Regions from separate parts of the Homo sapiens genome. Here region 2 is linked to region 1. Evidence: promoter capture Hi-C in 16 types of primary human blood cells and fetal thymus (Javierre and others, 2016). All regions are on one chromosome and are shown on one strand. The core of a region is centred on a gene start or on the middle of the fragment in contact, and the rest is flanking DNA. Distances in the headings are between cores, read along the strand shown.

The links. The method cuts DNA at HindIII sites, captures the fragments that hold promoters and counts their contacts. A CHiCAGO score of 5 or more calls a contact.
Region 2: a contact is called between a fragment that was not itself captured here and the fragment with the promoter of CTXN3 in region 1, in 1 of 17 cell types (M2 macrophages). The highest score is 5.1, in M2 macrophages.

What each region holds. Positions count from the first base shown.
Region 1 is chr5:127,647,503-127,650,423 of GRCh38, reverse strand. It overlaps CTXN3 (cortexin 3), which reads right to left and starts at 1,342. Exons shown (of 3, transcript NM_001048252.3): 1 at 1,036-1,342. The HindIII fragment of the contact is 10,433 bases long and covers 1-2,921 here.
Region 2 is chr5:128,190,032-128,192,753 of GRCh38, reverse strand. No RefSeq gene overlaps it. Among named protein-coding and RNA genes, the nearest start is that of SLC12A2, 110 kb to the right of the region's middle. The HindIII fragment of the contact is 232 bases long and covers 1,179-1,410 here.

The DNA.
Region 1 (2,921 bases), core at 93-2,592:
CAAAGGGGGGCTAAGGGTAAATATATTTTATACTCTCAAAACATAGACTCAAGTCTACTAGAAAGCCTACGAACAATGATTTCATAAACATGAGGATGTCTTCAGCTACAGATGTCAACAGGCAGTTTCAGAACTGTTGCCAGCCCCCACTGCTGCACTGGGAAGTCTGTTCTCTGCTTGTTTCTGCAAAGTCAGCCTGCAGACACGTCTGCTTGGGCTGGGAGTGGACCCTGTTATTCTCAACTCACTGCTGCTTTTAAGCTCTGGGTCAGCAGGAGACCTTTGTCTTCAGCCTCAGCCCCAATCTCAGCTTTACTTCTTCCCCATCTTCATCTTCCTCTTAATATCTGCTTGAGGAATTTTTAAGGGACTGCAGGGCAAGGCTACTGCCTAGCTGAGAACATCAGAAAACACCATGAGGGTGCCTAGTCAGGAATCGGTGGTATCAGAAGGCACCCTTAACGAACTGGAACTTTTAACTTCAAATAATAAGCCCTACTGTTCCACCTGGTTTTCTTTGTCTTTCTTTGTGTGTTTCATAGTGAAAACGGCTACTTGCTGATATCTCAAAAGGATAGTGCTGCACACAGCTTATCAGCCAGGGACAGTCAACGCTGTCAATATGAGTGGTTGAGTTGTGATCCTTTGTAAACAAATCAGAACATCCTTGTTACATTTTGGAAGGTTGGACGTTTTAGGTGACTGAAAAAAAAAATACGATAATGGGCAAACAGCTTTCAGAAATAAATTACTGCAGCTTAGGAAAGAAAAAAAAGCCTGTTTTACTACTTCTTCATCCAGTATCAATAACATTATAAACTTAACCATGCTTTAAAAATAAAGGCATCATTACATTTTACCCCCTCGCTTCTTAACTTTATCTAGCAATTGTTTAATTAGACTTATCTAACAGCTAGATCTAAATTCACAACTATGATCCGAAAGGCATGTATGCGATGATTGCTCATGCATCAATTGTAAAGTTAGAGAAAAGCATTTAATTAGCCCGTCAAAGATACAGGTTGGGTCAAGTACCTGGCTCTGGCTGAACAAACACTTGATCCATTTCCTGGTGGAACAGTTACAGGTAGTTACAAGCCTCTTTAGTTTCCATTCTTCCCGACCACGCTGTGTGAAAGCAGTAGACAGTGGTAGCTGCAAGGCAGCTGATGGCACACCCCAGGTCTAAAGCTGTTGTTTCAGGCTTAGAAACTTCCCATTAAAACCCCGAGTTAAAGGAGCATCGTCTTTCTGTGTGAGGCATCATTAACGGCCAATACTGCTGCTTCTTTGAGGTGAGCCATGATTTCAGTTCTGCCTCAGCAACTCTTCAGAGGATTCTGCTTCAGCGAGTAGAGGCAGTATCCTAGCAGTGTGTCTGAAATCATCTTCAAGAAAGCATTAACATTCAAAAGGAGTACGGGGTTGGGGGGTGGGGAAACATCACAGGCATTCCTATACCTTTTCAAAATCAAAGCCATAAATCTACCAGTGCTCTGTCCTCTTTATTGATTGTTGACACTATTCCTCTTTGGGAGTGTCAATTAGCACGTCGCAGCAAGTCTTCATATTGATTATTGTTGATGACCTTCAGGCCAACTCAATTAACAGGAAGACTTCTGGGGAAGGGCATCAACTTAGCATTTGGGAGAGGGAGAAAAGGCTCATTTTCCTAAAGAAAACTAAAGTGACCTTTCCAAAAAGCAGCATTTATGGGAAGGAAAGAACCATTTAAAAATATCAAAATCATAGTTTCACCACCTGTCACCTGCTTGTAAATTAGCTGGGCAGTTGGTTGCCAGGTCCAGTGTCTCTCTGAGCAGCCTGCATAATTGTGGCATTGGGAAAGCCCCCACCCCACACAGGGCACCTGAGACCACTCGATGAATAAAGAAGATTGATTTTTGTGAGAGAAAGTTGTTCTCATTCTGCAGATTCTAGTTACTTGCTACAATGCTTAAATTACTTTCGTTGGATAAGTAAATTTGGAAAATATTTTAGGATAAAATTCTTCATTAAAAAAACACTTCTCTAAGAAGAATTCAGCCTAATGCTTAAGACGGAGCATCCTTGTTTTTTGGCAACTCACCACTTTCTTTGTTGAAGTGGCGGCACAGTTAGCGACAACACACCCACCCACCAAATGATGGGGTGCGTGATATTTAAAGCTGCCTCTGACTGTGCCTGTCAGCTATGCTGTCTCCTCAGCTCTTGTGAGCAACCGGCCATTACCCAAAGGCTCTAGGAAACTGGAACCAAGCTCATCTTCTAAGAGGGAAACCCCATCTGCTCACAACGGACCACAATCCTGGATAGGATAGGCCTCGGACCCCAAAGGAACCTTTCAAATCAAATGCTAAATGTTAGGATCGAATGCTTGATGTTAGAGTCTAACCTCAAGACAATATGCAGGTTCTTTCCCCATTTGTTTTCCTAATTTTTAACTGAATTTTCTTTCCAATTCATTTTACTTACCCTATTTTCAGACACACACATACCACACACCGTAAGACAATGGGACACATGAAATCCAACTGAGCACGATCATCCTGTACTAACTGGCATCCCTCTTGCATTTAGTCAATTCTGGCAGAGGGAGTGCCTGTTTTGGCAATGCCAACAGAGTGTGGTTGAGGAATCTTTCCGACCTCACCCTCCTTCCTATAATTATCATTCCATGCGGTGAGAAAATATCATAGTTAGACATGAGCCTGGGTGACTGTAGCTTACCCTGCCAAAGAGGCCTTCTCGGATATGGTTTAGCCTACAGACTCGTAGAGGGAGAAGGGAACCTGAAAAGGCCTGGGGCTGTCCTCTAGCTACTCTGCAGGCTGAAACCATCCCAGAGAGATGAGTGCCTGGCCTATTTTAAAAAGTCTCCAGAGAAGTAGATGCCATAACTTCCTCTGACAACCTCTGTT
Region 2 (2,722 bases), core at 45-2,544, 540 kb before region 1:
ATTGGGGGGATCACATTTCCCAAACTGAGCCCATTGGGACCCTTCCCTAGTCTTTTCTGCCAAAGCTTATGAGGAGACACCACCTTTTTACTGCAGCTGTTGTTAAGCCACCAGGACTGAGTATGGTTTTCTCAGAAGCCACAGAGCACACTACATGATGACAGTCTATGTGAAGAACTGTCACGCTTAGAAAGGCAAACCAGAGAAGGAAAGATGAGCCCTAAGGACCCCGTTCCAAGTCCCTGCTTACACTCACTGAAGTCCCTAAGCTCAGCTGCCTTCTATGGCTTCCTTTTTCTGTTACCCACCTTTGGGTTCTGTTCTTGCCACTGACAAAGACCTAATATAAAAGGGAAACACTGAGCAATTTGGAAAGGAGATAATCATTTGAATTCACAGCTGGTGTTAAGGGGAGATGGAAGTTACATGTATACCATGAAAGAAAGGACAAAAGGAAGTGTAAAGAAGGGAGGTTATATTGAGAAGTAGCCTACGTGAAGAATTTCACTTAGAGATTATGTGGCAGGACTAAAGTATGTGTTAACAAGCCCTGCCATTGATTCTGAGGCACACTAAAGTTTGGGAACCACTGTTCTAATCAATGTTTCAATACAAAATATACCTGTGCTTCCTTACCAATTTTCTGAAAAAACCCAAGTGCGAAATTTATGTTAATACTACTAAACTCACAAGGGCATGGACAGTAAGCAATGGATAGTCTTTACTGATGGAAAGACCACAGAGAAAACAGACTACCTGAAAGATGTAGATTATTATAGCTCTGAGACTGGCACCGTGTAGCTAACAGAAGGTGCTGGTTGTGTCAACAGATTTAAAAATTCAGAAAAAAACTAACTTCTTCACAGTTCACTATTTCCCAAAAGGAAATATGACACTAAGACTTAAAGGCACATATTTTGCAATTCATAAACCTTTTCTTGGAGCATAATTTTTCATCTCACTGTCACCAGCCACCTCCTTCCCAAACTGTCCTTGTCATCTTCTAAATTTCTTAAATAGTAACATTTCTTAGGAACTCAGAGGATAGTTTTCATGGCTTAAGCAAAAATGTTGTAAACTTAAAAATAATCTGTGACTTTCTGGTTATCCAAATGCATGCCTATAGATTGCTCCTTTTCAAATTGTGACTTCCTTGAAAAAATGGCTCAACTGAAGCTTAATTTAGAATGTAAAAGAGCAAATGTAGTATCTTTTAGTAGTTATACACCTTTATATGTACCTTATATAAATAAATATGAACAGTGCCTACTTAATTTTAAAACTGTCTTTTTTAGTATATCTTAGAGATATAATAGCTGGATATAAAGTCACCCTATAAATTGCTTGCTTTCTTAAGACGAAGTTAACTCTTCCAGGATGAAACCTCCACAATTCTCTACCTCAAAAGCTTCGGTAGTATTCTAACAAAATTCTGACAAGTATTGAGTCAGATTTTGGCATTCAATACCAATGGATCCTGATCCTGTTTTGTGGATCAAAAAAGTAAGCTTATTTTCATTTGTAGCTTTGGGTAGAATACACTGGTAGTTTGTATTCATATCCTAGAATCGTGGAACAAAGGATATGTGTTACCAATACACTATCATTTTGGGGAATGAGTTCCTGATCTGTGAGGACAGCAGCCACAAGGAAGGCTGCACAGCAGGAGGGGACAAATGCAGAGGCATTCACATTTTCCCTAATAGTTTCAAACTTTTACCTTGTCTAAGAAAAAATTAAAAGGTAGATTTAAGGAGGGAAAAAAATGGGCTGAGGTTCTTAATGCTATCATTTAACAGACCATGTTAAATGCCCATCATATAGGTAAAACAGGTCCATCACCATTGCCACCAGATTCCATACAGGACAATGAGACTTAGATCCTTAGGTATTCGACTACTACCAAAAAAAATATGTCAAGTTGGTTAACCCACCAACATGTTGTATTTATTATCTGAACTAGAGAAACTAAATAGTACTTTCTATTGAGCATATCCTAGAACTTGTACCATCTTTTCCCCAAAAGTTAAACATTAAACTACCATCTATTTCCTCTGGACCTACAAACTTCCTATAGGTACATAAACATAAAGAGGGAAGCATATCAAATGGATTTATCTTTTCTTCCTGGTGAGTGAACAACAAAAGCCTGCTGGCTCAAAGGTGAATGATGTTCCTGTTTTAAAAACTGTTGGATGGTCTGATATTAGAAAATGTCACATACATAGTTGCCTTCAAATTCTCTTTTAGCTTTCCAAATAAGTGAGTAAACTGGCCTGAATAGTGGCTTGAGAATAAGGAAGATGACAAATCAAAAAATGGATATTTACATTTTGTTTCAAACCTATTAAAGGCAGCCTGTAGCCAACCTATATTTCTAACTATAATTTGCCTTACCTGAACACACATTTACTGGGCGGACAGGTGTAAGTAATTTGGAAATGACCAATCTGGAAATGACCAATCTATCCCAGCCATCTATCTTATGGATCAGCCAGCAGTGAATGCATAATAAAGAAATTCCTGGGGATAAAAGACCTGGGCTCTAGACCAATATCCTTCCTTGATTTACCCCATGACCTTGGAAAACTCCCTAAACTGCTCCAAGCTGCTTTCTCAAGAGTAAAAGAAATAGCTGTCCTGCATATATACACACCTACAGTCATATTCAAATGAGAAAATGAAAATGCTTTCTAAAACTCTAAATGAGCTTAGACAAAAA